Linked DNA regions of Homo sapiens: region 2 is linked to region 1. Evidence: promoter capture Hi-C in human tissues and cell types (Jung and others, 2019). All regions are on one chromosome and are shown on one strand. The core of a region is centred on a gene start or on the middle of the fragment in contact, and the rest is flanking DNA. Distances in the headings are between cores, read along the strand shown.

Evidence for each region. The method cuts DNA at HindIII sites, captures the fragments that hold promoters and counts their contacts. A contact is called where the count stands out against the background at its distance.
Region 2: a contact is called between a fragment that was not itself captured here and the fragment with the promoter of KCNIP4 in region 1, in 3 of the 25 tissues and cell types used here (H1 embryonic stem cells, dorsolateral prefrontal cortex and pancreas).

What each region holds. Positions count from the first base shown.
Region 1 is chr4:21,944,662-21,952,450 of GRCh38, reverse strand. KCNIP4 (potassium voltage-gated channel interacting protein 4) reads left to right here and starts at 3,679. Exons shown (of 9, transcript NM_025221.6): 1 at 3,679-3,880. The coding sequence starts at 3,820. RefSeq lists enhancers at 2,731-3,231, 3,232-3,732. The HindIII fragment of the contact is 8,414 bases long and covers 1-5,463 here.
Region 2 is chr4:21,873,320-21,881,108 of GRCh38, reverse strand. The region is part of intron 1 of KCNIP4 (potassium voltage-gated channel interacting protein 4); the gene reads left to right. Among named protein-coding and RNA genes, the nearest start is that of KCNIP4-IT1, 24 kb to the right of the region's middle. The HindIII fragment of the contact is 3,864 bases long and covers 2,176-6,039 here.

The DNA of each region.
Region 1 (7,789 bases), core at 2,430-4,929:
AAGTCTGAGATTCATGGCTGGCACATGGTGAGTTTCCTATTTCTGCACTCAATTTTGAATATGGTTCCTTGAGGGAAAAATACACATCCGTGCTATACAGAAAGTAATCTAGGGTTAGTCAGAGAAGGTGGCAATCTTTGTGCATGTGTCTTGAGGTTGGGAAGACGGGCTAGGGTTGCTACAGCCTCGGAGGAGTAATAAGAAGCTGGCACAGCATGCTGTGGCCTATGAAGCTCTTCTCTTTAACTAGTTGAAGTACTTAAAGAGCCAATAAGGAGATGGTACAAGCAAGACAGAGAAATCCTGGACTTTCGGTCCCAAATATCAAAAATGGCGGTAAATGTGGCAGTAAAAAGATAATTATTCTGTGATGTTTGGCAATGACTAAGAATCCGAGTAAAAAGGTCTGGACTTGGGATTTGTAGTAGCTAAACTCCCATACAAATATTTTGGAAATATATTAATATATTAATATTATATATTGATTATATTATATAATACAATATTTATATGTTAATATATTACAAACTTCTTCAGCACAGTGTCTACTTTACACGATTTTGTTGCCTTCTTTATAATTAGTTAAGGGGTAAACGTTTAGTAGGGCCACCATGGGCAGATATTCTTTGGATAAGATTTGAAAGATAGTTTGGTCCAACAAAATGTTCTGCATATTTTGGAGATGAGAAAGGGGTTGTGTATTACTTCCCACACTGTGAGGGAAGGTTGCTTAGACCTGTTGTAGAATATAGTGGTGCCATTTCTTCTTTGAGTTCACCATGACAAAATATGATGATGATAATGGTGATAACTATTACGATGGCAGCTCTTACTGACTCTATGTGCCAGGGGCCATCCTAAACACTTTACATATGCTGCCTCATATAATCTTTCCCAATAGTTAAGTAGACACTATTCTTTTCTTTACTTTTTTTTTTTGAGACAGAGTCTTGCTCTGTTACCCAGGCTGGAGTGCAATGGCATGATCTCGGCTTACTGCAACCTCCGCCTCCCAGGTTCAAGTGATTCTCCTGCCTCAGCCTCTTGAGTAGCTGGGATTACAGGCATGCATCACCACACCTGGCTAATTTTTGTATTATTAGTAGAGTTGGGGTTTCACCATGTTGGCCAGGCTGGTCTCGAACTCCTGACCTCAGGTGATCCGCTCACCTCGGCCTCCCAAAGTGCTGGGATTACAGGCATGAGCCACCTTGCCCGGCTGACACTATTATTTTCTTCATTTTAGAGTGAGAAAACTGAGGGAGGTTATTAGTCCTCAAACATACAGCTTGTTCACAGTTGGAACTGGAATTCCAACCCAGGCTGCAGAATCCAAACCAGCATGCTCAGGTAGCTTTAGAAGTCATCATATAGAAGACAAAATTTGGAGTTGGACAAGTATTAGTGATTCAAAGTTGTGGGTGGTTTCTGGAAAGAGTGTTAGCTACAGAAAAAGAGAAAGAAGTAGTTGGTCAGTAAGTTGGAAGTTTGCTAGGAGAAGTCTGCAGAAGAGGGAGAAGGTGGCACGCGACAGAATCGAATGATTGAATCTGATAGAATGGGCAGCGAGAAGACTTGTTATGAGGAAGCTGGCAAGTGGGAAGAATGCATTGGCTGTAAAAGTATGCAGACAAAATTCAATAAACATTTACACTGCACATGATCCCATCCTCTCTGACTCTCTCTCCTGTTACCCTTTCCTTCTCTCAATGTACTTCAGCCCTGTCAACCTCCTGGCTGCCCTGCAAACATGCTATTCTTATGTTAGCTCTTGCTCTTCTCTCTGCTTGGAAGTTCTTTTTCCCTTGAGATGCCCATGGCTAGCTCCTCGCTTTCATCAGGATTCCAATTAAATGTTGCCTCTTTCATAAAGCCCTTATGGACCCCCTATATAAAAGTGATCTCCCTAGCAGATCACTTCTGATTCCTTGATTTATTGTCAGTCTCTCTGCCTTCTAGATAGTCAGCCAATAACTGAGGGTCTTTGTTGTATTCACTGTGGTATCCCAGTGCCTATAATTGTGTCTTGTACACAGTAGTTACTAGATGTTTGCTGAATAATGAAAAAACAAATGTTTAGTGAAGACCAACTATGTGCAAGGAACTTTTCTAATTGCTTTGTCAATATAACATTGTTCTCAACTTCAAGAATCAGGGTTGCCTGTCTTTATACAGTGATTGCTACATGCCAGTCACGGCTCTAAGCCCTTTGCATCTATTGATTTTCTTAAATCCTCACAACAAAACAATAATGTAGGTACCAGTTATAGCTGATATTTGTACCAGGCCACAGGATTATGAAGTAGTGGAACTAGGATTTGAACCCAGACAATGGGGTGTCAGCATCTGTCTCCTTAACAATGAACTAAAAGAGTAAAAGGCTCTCAAGAAATATACAAATACATGCTACAAGGGCTCAAAGGACTAAGTAAATCGCTCGTGCGTTTGGGGGTGGGGAGAAGGGCAATAAGGTGTCAATTGAGACCTACTTGGAGAAAGGGGGAAGATTTCACTTGGTGACAGTGTGTATAAATAATCCAGCAGCCATAGGGAAGGCAAATAGTTTCACAAACACTTAGAAATGGCTTCCACCCAAGTCATGGCCAACTGACCTTGCAGCTGAGAGTGAGAGGGAATTTTAATTCAGTTTGCCTGGAGAACGGGTCAACTTGACCTTTCTTCTGAAAAGAGAGGCTTCATGCACTTGACTCTTGGGGACACAGAAATCTGCATTTTAATTTTGACTTCTCAAACAGTAACCATGGCCACAAGTGGTCTATTGGTTTCTCTTTACCTTCCCAACTATTCCCGGCCTTACTGTGCTTTAGAAGGGCAAATGACCTTGCGGGTGGTGAGCGATACCTCCTGGTTGACCTGCCTGGGAGATCTCAAATGAAACCCCCCACATGGATGCTTCTCCAAAATGCCACCAGTCTATGCCACCCCCTCTCTCCAAGGTGGTATTCTGCACCTCGGCCCTGCGATGTTCACCTGGAGTCTAGAGCCAGTGTTTCCCCACACTTAGCCGAGTCGCATGACCGGTTCTAGCTTCAATGGGGGAAAGTTTCCCGTCTAGGAGTTCTGGCGCTCTGCCCGGCTCCGGAGAAGGGCATCTCCTTGCGCTTCCTCTCTGGTGTCCTTCGAACTCAGCCTAACTTTGTGCAGCAGTATTTCCAGTCTAGCTGTCCAAGTTGGAGCCCCTGGGGGACGCAGCGGCGCGTTGAGAAGGCGCGGCGCCTTCGAGCCCCTCCCCAGAGCAGGCGCTGCTCGCAGTGACAAGGGGTCCTAGAGGCGCCCGCTGAGAGCCGCTGGCAACTCCCGGGGGTGTCCTGCCCAGCCCGAAGTCACCTCGGGTCTCTTTCGGGTCCATCTACTCTGTCGCCAGAGGCACCGTGCCACCCGCGGCGCTTTCCTCTCCCCGCACCCCGCCCCCCGCATCCCCAGTCCGGTGACTTGGCAGCAGGTGGCAGGGGCGGCGCTCACGAGGGCGAGGGGCTGGGGTCCCCGCACTCGAGCCGCCCGTGCAGCCCGCCCGCTTCCAGCCGCCGGCGCGAAGCTGCCGGCGCCTCGGCCTCCCCCGCCACCCCGCGCGCCCCCGCCGCCAAGGGCCGCGCAGCGCCCCCGGCGCCCCCCGCCGGCCTCCGCCCGCACCTGCAGCCCGCTCCGCGCGCCCTGCCCGCAGCCGCCGCCGAAGCTCTCGCTCCCAGCGCCACGGACGCCCCCGGGCCGAGCGGCGGTGCGCTCCCGTGCAGACCCGTGGACAGACGCCCCTGGCCGGTGGACTCTCGAGTCTCGCTTCTGCACCCTGCGTCCCTAGACATGAATGTGAGGAGGGTGGAAAGCATTTCGGCTCAGCTGGAGGAGGCCAGCTCTACAGGCGGTAGGATGCAATAAGCTTGCGAGCGGGCGCCCGCTTCCGCCCTCCTTCCCTCGCGAGCCAAGACGGCTGCCCCTTCCCTTCCTCGGCTGGGGACGCTTGTTGCCTTCGCTGCATGAGACACAGTCACCTGGCGGGACTGGGAAGGGGAGGTGGGAGCGGCAGGAATGGGGTGCAAAGGAGAGGGGGGTGCATGCAAGATCCAGGTCGGGGAAGAAAAGATGTTTGAAGTGTGTTTGAAACTCGCCGGTGGCAGGGTCCCCTGCGATCCTGTGCGTACTTTTGCCTTCTCTGAAAATTTCCGAGGTTGTTTATGCATCTGCCAGATGACTCCAGACCGCACGCTTCCTTCCCCTAACACCTGGGGATTAATGAGCTGAAATAGTATTGATCCTCGCCTTCCACTTTTCCTTCATGCCCCCACACGTTTCTTCATTACAACTGTATTTTTGTCCCCTGGTAATATACTGGCGGCATCTTGCCCATGTCAGATTCTAAAGCAGGAGCGTATGGCTTGTTTTATGGCTAGCTTCAGTTTAGTGTGTTCAGAGAAAATGGTCCTCAGTGACACTTGCAAATAATTTATATACAGTACAGCCTTGTTAAGGTATCGGGCACTGTGTTAGGAGCTTGGCTTTCAGAGAAACGTGCGTTCTGCGAAAGCAGGGAGAAATGTTTTGCTGTTTGGTGGGATCCATAGAGAAATAGGAGACGATGCCCTTCCACAAAGCGTCTTGGGTTGCATCGATTTGTTATTAGGTGGTTTTGATGTGTACAGAGTATTTTACAGGAGCCGGAAAGAGAATGGAAGTGATTTTGGGGCACATGAGAGTGATAAAGGGCTGGACCTCTCCCTGATTACATAAGCTAAGGGGTCACATATGGCTATAGCATAGTTTGGGTTTAGAGGGTGAAAAACTTGGACTCGAGGGCTGTAAACTTGCAAGCAAAGAGGTGTTTCCACTTGCTGCCTTCTTTAGTACTCAGGGAAATGGAGTCACCTCAACAACTTGAGTCAATCATTCGAATTTATGGCCATGAGAAATGGAAATGGACACCCTCCCTTTCTTTTCCTCACTCCAATAGTTAAGGTCATCGTAACCGGGAGGACACTAGTCTCACTTGAATATGAAATTTTAAAGAGAACAGTCTTAATCCTTTTGGACTGGAAAAAATAATATGAACATCACCTGTAAAGCCCCACATTTGACTTGTAACTGTGTTTAGTTCTGTTTTCACTTATGCCTGGAGATGCCCACTCATTACGAGCCAAGCATAAGTAGATTATCTCTTGTGAGAAATGCTTACAATCTTTAAGAGATCAAATGTTTCCTGAGTGGCGTGTTTAATGTAGAGGGCTGAGTAGTTTTGGGGTGTTGAGTTGAGTTCGTAGGGTCTCTGTCTTTGCAGTTCTTTAGAATAAACAGGGTAGAGGGCTAGCGCTGTCCTATTAGAGACACATTCACACACGGCAGCCCAGGGAACTCAAGGCTGGAGCAGATGGCAGGAATGTCGTCTCAGGATCTGGATGGCTTGCATTGCTTGGCTCCTCAGTGACCACAGCTCTTTGACTGTACCTGTTCTTCCATCAACCGGATGGGGATTGAATCAGCATGTCTAGACTATGCACAGGGTCATGGGTGGCCATAATCACTATAAATGGGAAATGAAGATGAAGTCACACCTGGGGAGTACTATACATTTAAAAAAGCAAACCTTTTACTGCTATCTCCAGAATCAGCATGTGTTCACTGTTTATTTAGAGAACAGAAATATGTTGTTTTATACCTTGGCTAAGGTGAGACCAAAGTGATGAGTTTTCTGGCTGAGAATTGATTTGACACCTGTTTCTTGAATTGTATTCACAAATTTTTAGTTAGTTGTCATATGATGAGAAGAATAAAGAAAAAAATAGTTTGGATTATCTTTTTTATTCTTGTTGATATTGCTTCAAAGCTAATATTAGAGAATGATCCCCAAATATGTAATACTATTTTCACCAAACATATGCATAAGTACTTTGCTTACTTGTGATCAGATATAGGATGGTCTTTACTAATCCTGGGATGAGAAGGGATGATTTTTAAAGGCTTAAACTCTGTCTTCCATTTTTGTTTTAAAATAATAGTCCCGATCTCTTGTTCTCTTTCCAATAAGTAGGCTATTTATATAACTCCCAAACTATCTTGTACTATGATACAGTTTTTCCTTGAATATATATCTCTGGAATGGAGGTTTATAAGATGATTTAGCTGGAATCTAAGCAAAATTTAACTGGAAGATCTAACTGAGAGAAATGTAGGTGGATGATAGAGAAATCAAGAATTAGAGAAGTGTGAGTCTGTGTGCGTACGTGTATGTATTTTATGACCTGACTTAGAGATAGAACACTGTGAAAAATGGTTTGCTGAAAGGCAAAGGATGAAACTACATGAATGGAAAGTAGAGAGGAAATGTTGGAAATGACAGAACAGAGTCGAGTTGCAATTCTGAAACTTTATAATAATTTAGTTTAAAAAGTTCGTTCCGTACTCTCTTCTCAACAAGTAAACGCATCTAGTATGCTAACTGATGAACACCACCTGTAAATCACTGTAATTGACATTGTTAATGCCAGAGAGGACAGAAAATGGGTGAGTTGTGCATAAGTACATACAAGTAGAGAAGGTTTCTTACAAATTAGAGTGCTCACTTTTGCCCTGCCAGCTTCCATGTTAAACCCAAAGCCTGACCAAAATACATTTTTCATTTCATTGTCTAATCCCATATTTTGCACTCCTGCTATAAAATCAGAACGTAATCCTGCTAACAGTGGAGAGACTGAGGGAGATGATAATTCAACTATGTTTGAAAGAGAATCAGAAACAAGGTCAGAGGAAAAAAAAAACTACAAAATTATTCATTGGTGTCCTTAATTTGTGCCATCTAACTTAGAGATGGCAGATGTTATGTGATGTAATCTACAACTAAAAATGAGGAAAATGTATGTTTCAATAGTAGAGTAAAAAAATGTCTTCAATTTTGAATTGCCATTTGATGGATGTATCGTGGCTTTGGCTTAAGTTTCATGTGTTTTAAAAATAAGGCAAACTCAAATTAGTAATTCCACAAGGGTAATATTGAAAAATCCATTTATTCTGAATCCATGAAAAGCTTTTCATCATACAATCATTATTTTATTTTCTTTATGTCATATAAATGTAAGAGGTGTACTAAACAAATGATAGGACAAAGTGTTGAAATTCAGCCACCCTCTCTCCCCAGGCCTGAAGCTTATGCCCTCTCATAAAATAAAGCTGTGGATGGTTTGGAAATTAATGAGCCATGCAATATAAAATCTGTGTGCAAGATTTCTGGAGAATTGTAGGCCAGGTAGTGGTTGATTGTTTTGAAGATATATTTCTGGGCTTAAATTATTAAGCCCTTCTTACTATTTTTTGTCCTTTTATTTATTTTTCGTGTTCTCACTTTTTCCAGAACATGTGAATAATATTGCTTTTCAATAATACATAACAGAATGTGTTTTTTTACTTAATAGCCTCTCTTCTTAGCGACTATTTCAAGTAGATTAACGTGTGAGGCAGGGAGGGGGTTGTGGGGAGATGAGTATTTTGTTTGTTCAAGGATCCTTTGCAAGTCTGAAAAATCTTTCAAAATTATATAACTGCACCCATTATTATAAATTAATTTACCCTTGGGCATTGAAGCACCCATTTCATTCCAAAAGTATTCATTTGGTTAAAGGTCCTGAGGGACTTTTCTCAATTCGTGTCGTCCTGAACTCACTGGGATGTTTCATGCTGTTTACCAACATGTGTTGGAAGACTGTGAGCTCTGTGAGAGCAGAAGTATTCTGTCCTGTCCACCACTTTATCCCCAGTATTGAGCATGAAGTCTGACTTGTAATATTTG
Region 2 (7,789 bases), core at 2,858-5,357, 72 kb after region 1:
ACTTGGAGACTTTAAAAAATATTATAATTCACTGTAAGGATTTAAAAATGAACTATACTCCAACAACAATTACAGCTTAACAATTTAACATTACAAATGTCTTCCCAAACAAAGAAGCAGGTATTCTTGGGAAAGGAAGAATGGAAAACTATCAATTAATAAGAGTTTTATCTTTATTTTTGCAACTTCTGGTTTAGTTTTGCCCTTGACAAATCCACATAAGAAGTAAGAGGTTAAAACTATAGGGTCATTGTTAAGTTGCATACATTGTTAGCATTCCTGGAAGCGTACCAGATTGTGAAGCTCAAGGTTTTCAAGACAGACACACCTGGTTTGGATTCTAGCATTGCCATTTGCTGGGAAACCTAGATGGCTATCCACCAGAATAATTATGAGAGCTACTACAAGATTGGAATAAAGCTTTATACATGCCATACAGTAAATTCTCAGTTAATATCATTTTGTTCTCTTCTTTTTCCCTTAGAAATAAACAGAATAACAACATTATGTTGAAAAAACTTAATTCAACCTGTATAACAATGACCAAGGAAGAACTATGACTAATAAAGATCAAATATGTTCAACCTCAGTAGTTTTTAATGATGAAAATATAAAAATAACTAGCTGCTGGCTTTTCAATTTTCAGATTAACTGTGGTTAAGAATAGGTACCAATATGGGAGATACAGACATTCTTATATTGATGGTAAGAATATAAATTAGGAAAACTAATATACATTGACTACATGGAATGCCTTAAAATTTCATACCTTTCAACTCAATAATTCTGCTGATTTGCTTACCATGATAATTATATTTTCTTACAAAGATTTATAAACAAACATTTCCATTAGGCTATTTTTAAATAATAAAAAATATATGATGAAACATTTTTGGTCAATAAATGCAGTTATTTCGGAGAATGCTTAATAGCATGACAAAAGTCTCCCCATGCCATATCTCCTTAAAAAGCAAGACAGTCAACTATACATAGATGTATTAGTCCATTCTCACGCCGCTAATAAGACATACCTGAGACTGGGTAATTTATAAAGGAAAGAGGTTTAATTGACTCACACTTTTGCAGGGCTGGGGAAGCCTCAGGAAACTTACAATCATGGTGGAAGGGAAAGCAAACACATCCTTCTTTGCATGACGGCAAGAAGGCGAAGTGCAGAGTGAAAGTGGGGAAAAAAAGCCCCTTATAAAACCATCAGATCTCATGAAAACTTACGATCATGAGACTAACGTGGAGGTAACTGCCTCCATGATTCAATTACCTCCCACCGGGTCCCTTCCATGACATGTGGGGATTATGGGAACTATAAGATGAGATTTGGGTGAGGACACAGCGAAACCATATCAATAGATTATTATTCAAATTATATAAAAATAAAAATAATATATGAATTATCGAAACAAGAAAATAATACTCAAAGGGAAAAATTGGTTGTCTTTAATGGTGGGTTATTGATGAGTTCCATTTTCCTTCTTGATACTTTCCTGTGTTTTCTACATCTTTACAATATGCAAGACATGACTTTATATTCAGGAAAACAGAACAAAATGATGAAGTCGATCTATTGAGTTAAAGTTTGGACAAGAAGCCTGAATGCAGGAGTCCAGGGAACTCTTCAGCCAACAGTCAGGCTTGCCTGAAGGGGGCAGCCATGCTGGTCAGATTGGCCTCTGATTTGAGAGGAGTGACTCACAGGTCCGCGGCCTCTGACAGGGAGAGGATGCTGAGGGATAGGGGTGAGTAGCACTGCCAAAACATTTCCAGTTCATGGGGTTTGCTTGGTTTCAATATGATACCTCTGAGCTTCCAAGACAACTAAGAGTTCAACTATGCTTAGAAACTTTTTTGCCTTATGACAAGGATCTAAGCTTTTCAGACCTCTCTAAGTTCCTTGAGGGTGTGCAATTTTTTTAAAAAGCGGACTGTGATCACATGGCATATGTTCATATTTTCATTTTGCAATATAAAGGACCTAAGGGGGGAAAAGCTACTGTCTATAATCATAATGATTTTATGAAAGAAAGAGCTCTACCCAAAAATGTAGGCAGCACATGATAATCTAAGGATACAAAACAATATTTTAGTTGGATAAATTTTGTCTTCTGAAAAATTCATTGCATTTTTCTTTGAATTTCATCATAAGTAAGTGAAAGTATTGCCACGGACCCACAAGGGTCTTGGAACTCCCAATTAAGGAGACACTAAGTAGTACTCAGCTCACTTCTTTATGTTCATCTCACTTCATTCTAATAACATCCACTGTCCTTTTTGTAAAAACGAGAGTACTGAGGCCCACAAGGTGTGGGAAGTACATGTAGCTTGCTTGTCTGACCATATTTCATTGTATTGTCTATGAGTCTTCACGTTTGTGTTCATGTTGTCCAGAATAAAAAGAAAATAAAATAATTCATTTAAATATAGAAATTGCCCTAAGGGTGACCTAAGCTTTAAAGTAGTAAATTTGCTAAAATAATGTTGAAAGCATTGCTCATTGTCATCTTGGGTATTGCCAGGTTTAGCTGGAAGGGACCAGGAACATTAATTTGCAGAGAAAGTACATACTTCTTGAAAGGGTGATGGTAGTAGGTGAAAGAATGCAGACCAATAGCAGAAAACAATATGAACTTAATTAATATAGGCAGAAGATGTGAAAACTATTCTGTATGCAGAAAGTGTTGATCAGAGGACACAGTGATCTTCAAATCAAAAGGGCAAGGCCGGGTACTGTGGCTCATGCCTGTAATCCCAGCACTTTGGGAGGTCGAGGCAGGTGGATCGCTTGAGATTAGGAGTTAGAGACCAGCCTGGCCAACATGGTGAAACTCTGTCTCTTCTAAAAATACAAAAATTAGCTGTGCGTGGTGGTGTGTGCCTGTAATCCCAGCTACTTGGGTGGCTGAGGCAGGAGAATGACTTGCATCTGAAAGGTGGAGGCTACAGTCAGCAGAGACCATACCACTGGTTACAGTGAGCTGAGACTGTGCCACTGCACTCCAGCCTGGGCAACAGAGAGAGACTGCATCTCAAAACAAACAACAAACAAACAAACACCCAAAACACACACATACAAAAGTGTAAGTTTCCATGGGCCTGTGTTCTCTGGAAGTTCTTACCCTCCTGTTCTCAGAAATCTCTCTGTGCTCACTCAGCATATCTGAATTGTTCTGAGAAGGCTCTGGCTCTTTGTCCACAACCCCAGAACATTCCTCAGTGTCTATTGTGTGACATGGAGAGAAAAGGCCTTCTAGGTTTTTGCTGGACCAAGATTTAATATCTAAGAGATATTCTTGTAAAAGGAGAAGGGTTAGAAACAGAAGCAGGACTAGAGAACACCTGGTGGTCCAGGAAGAATAGAGGCATCTGCAGGGAGATTAGTCATCTGTACTAAAATGGAACTAAGTTCTTCAGGTCAGAATATGCAGTGGTGAAAAATCAGGTAGGCAGGAGGGCAGTCATTGCCAGAGAACAAAGGAGAGTGGTAGGAAAAACCAAGAACCCGGAAATTCAGTGTGGCCATTGAAGAGGGAAATTAGGAGGAGAGACTTAAGATACAGAGTAACTAGATTGTTACTATGGTGACCATTTAGTCCTGTTGAGTAATACTTACTATATGCCCTCTAAATTCCTGATCCATTCTAGGGTAACACCATAAAACCAACCTTGGTCCTATGTTATACATTTAATGACAATGGTAACTCAGTGTTTGGTTTTATTTATTTATTTATTTATTTATTTTTGAGATGGAGTTTCACTCTTGTTGCCCAGGCTGGAGTGCAGTGGTGCCATCTCAGCTCACTGCAACCTCCATCTCTCGGGTTCAAGCAATTCTCCTGCCTCAGCCTCCCAAGTAGCTCTGATTACAGGGACCCGCCACCACACTTGGCTAATTTTTGTATTTTCAGTAGAGATGTGGTTTCACCATGTTGGTCAGGCTGTTCTTGAACTCTTTACCTCAGGTGATCCATCGCCTCGGCCTCCCAAAGTGCTGGGATTACAGTTGTGAACCTCTGCACCCAGCCCAGTATTTGGTTTTAATGGACCTATTTTTAAATCTGCTGATATTGTTCTTAGTCAGTGTATTTTTGCTGATCTTTAATCCTTTTTTTTTTTCTCCTAATCCAGGCAATTGAGTGGTGCCTGTCTAAGATTGTCTGGCCACTAGCAGATGGACTGGCTTGCACATGGCCTGTTATCACTACAAATTTGAGAGTGTGCTAACATAAATAATCCAGACTCAAGTCTCCCGTTGACAAAACATGTTTGATTTTATCATGTATATAAAATAAATGTATAGTCCTACCATTTTCTTTTTTTGAACTTTCACTCACTTTTTTATGATGAAATATACATTAGAAATTTTAAAAAACACTTCATCCTGTCAATCACTTCAAAATTCAGCACATTCTGTTTTCAAAGACTTTCATGAGGCAGTCTGCTTGAAATCTATTTTAACTTATTTTTTTAAAATAGCATTTTATTTTGTTCTGTGGAGCAAGAGTATATTTGGCTCTAAAATTAATTCCACTCGAACAGCCCCAGTTTTCTTTCCACTTAGTCTTGGAGAAAGGGAGTCTTTTCCTTCCTCCTGTCTTTCTAATTAATGTATTTCCTCATTTAGTACTCCGCTTACAATCCTGCTTCTGCTTCTTAACCCAGGACCCACCAATAGAATTTAAGGGTTCAGTGAACTTACATAGGAATAAAAATGTAATCTTTATTTTACTAACTTCCAGTGAATTTAAGGTCCTTAAATTATGGGTGTGTAAGCAACAAAGCACAGAGATTATGTGCAACTTTGCCTCCAGTAAAATCATAGATAGAATCATAATCATAATATCACATTGCAGTTGTTACAGATATAGTTAAAAATTACAGTATTTGACCCATTTCTACATATTGATAGTTAATACGTTCATAGTGAAGTGTATCACTATGTCACAATTTTACTTTTGTAATATTTTTATAGCTTTTTTCAATATGATTAATTTTCTTTATGGACCTGTGTATTTTCTTTTATTCATTGGAAAGCATTGTTTTGAGAAGAAGGCCATAGGCTTCACAAAACTGTGAAAGGGATCCATGGTTCAAAAACAATTAAGAACTTAAATTGATTTTTCTGAAGTCTCCTTTTTCTATGTAGACCATAATTTGAATGTATTTTACTTGTCCTGAAATGCCTCTAAGTCAATAAGCTTGTATTTTCTTCTGAAATTCTATGATCTGAAATATTTTCATGTGGCATGTGAAGTAAAAGCATTTCTCGTGCCAATTAGAAAAAATGCATCTGACATTAAATTAGCATTTACTATAATGAAATCAGGCCTGTGTGATTAATACAGTGCAATTATACTCATCTGAAAATTTGCCATATTTAATTTTTCAGCATCAAATAATCAAAAATCGTATTTGTTTGTGAAGGATACAATGTTCTTCTCTCAGTGCTGAACACAGGCATTGATTTCCGGTGACAAGAAGGCTTCTATAACAACTTAATTGATTATAATACTTATTAAGTGCTTACAGCATACTAGACATTGTGCCAAAAAAATCACTTCTACTGGTATAGAAATGCCTAATACAACTCACAGATATGGAGTACTAAGTGCAACATGTCCAAATCACCACTGACTATTTCAACGTAGAAAAGCATTTTATGAGTAAATAGGTGAAAAACATGAACCACAGAAATACTTATTTCTATCTATTTATTTGTTTGAATTTAATTCCAGAATTAATCAAATCCTGTCTCTATTGGCTGCTGGTGACTCTGTGTCTAATGAAGAATCAGCTCTATTTGCAGCAGTTGGCTCACTGGAGCAATAGTCATGGTGTCCATTATGAGTGATGATCTCAAATAGTGGGAAAGGGCATGAACTCAGGAATCAGACAGACCCAAGTCTGCATCGTGGCTTTTCTACTGACTAGCTCTGTGACCTTGTTTAAGTTACATTTGTGCCTCAGATTCCTTATCTTAAGAAATGACAATAATAAGATATAACTTACAAGGTAGTTATATAAAACACAGACTTATAGGGAAAATGTCTGTCACAGTTGTCTGGCAGATAGTGAGCTCTCAACAATTTTTAGTTGTCGTTGTTTGTTGTCAGAACTCTTCTCAAATATGCCTCCTTCCCAGCAATAAGAGTTCGAGAACCACATCAATTCCTACCCTCTATTGAAATCTTATGAGCCCAGAGGATGTGGCACACTCCTTGTTTCAGAGAAATACAATCAAGTTAGAAATTAGAAATTTATACAGGAATCAGATGGGAAATATGGAAAGGTAGTAAAAATAGTAAAAAGAATGCTAAATGTTGTGATATGTATTTATATAAATTAGAATCCTGGCATGAAATAGGGTGATTGAAGAGAGGTTAAGTGAGAGAACAATTTACCAATTTGTGGGTAAAAAAGAGAAGCAAAATAGAATGGTGTAGCACCCAAGGAGTAGCAAATATCAGGAGCCATTACTAACCCATGAAACTGAGAGGGGAAGAAGCCTTTTCCAGAATCTGGAGAGAGCTGTGGCTATCACTGCAGGGAAATACCTCCTGATAGGAGTTACAGCCTTATCTAAAGGAGCACAGCCATTCTCTCTCCCTCTGTGGGTCAGATCCCAGAGAACATACATTCTAATGTCTGTCTCCATCAACCCCCAAACCAGCTGAAAGCCAGAGAGCTCAGGAACCCAGGTAAAGCAGTTTGGACAGACGGCCTCATGCAGCATGATGGAGAAGGACAGAGAGTAAATGTGAAGAGGCAACTGAGATTAGTCAGCAAAATATTAAAAGATACATTTAGCAATTTAGAGAAGGAGGGAACAGTAAGAATTCAAGCAGTCTCAGGAAGCTTCTCTAACAATGAAAGTTGGGTTCTATAAATAATTCCTGCTTTAGACTTAACATGTTGTGTACATTGTAATCGAATGTGACATAACCATTCTGGTCTAACAATTCCACCCAATGATATGGTTAAGTGCCCCCTTCGAATAACAGTGCTACTCCTTGTTGCGGCTATGCGTATCAGTCACAGTGAATGTAATACAGCTTGGCAAGAGCCCAGGATTTTTGCCTTGCAAGTCTTCAGAAAATGTAGAGAGAGCAAGCAAATTATCTTGTGTGAGCAGAGTGAACAAAATGCATGGGGAGGTAGAATTTCAGCTAGCCTGACAATAGGTCTCAGCCTTGTTCACCTTCCTGCCCTCAAATGGCCAAGGAATCTGTTCAAAGATAAATGCCCTCTGTTGTTTAGAAGCCTGCTGAATCTTTCACCCAGACAGCATTGATTACTCCTACAAGACCTATTTATTTGAAACTTCCTATTGATCTGTTTACAGAATTCACTTCAGGACTTATTTTGTAACCGGGATGCTTTCAATTAGGGATTCCTTTGGGTCTTATTTTTATAATTTTGTTGTGGTTGGCAAGGCTGTTTGTATGTTCAGATAGATTGTCCTAAATGTTTAGTCTCATGATTTTGTCCAATAGTAATAATTCAGTCTTTCAACAGTGAATTCAGTGAATCATTCATTGACCAAACATTTTCTCAGTGACTATTTTGTGCCAGGCACTGTGGTATGTGTGTATTAGCTAACTCTAAAAGGCCAAATTATTTTCATTTCTTTTAATTCTGATGGACTGATAATACTGTTTTTGCATTGTTCTTTTGAGGTAGATTTTCAGGTCTATCTAGGGCTCAGCAGAAATGAGTTCTGTAATTGATGGGCATGGCTATGAGGCAGTAAGTGCTTTCAACTGTGGGTCAGCTGAGT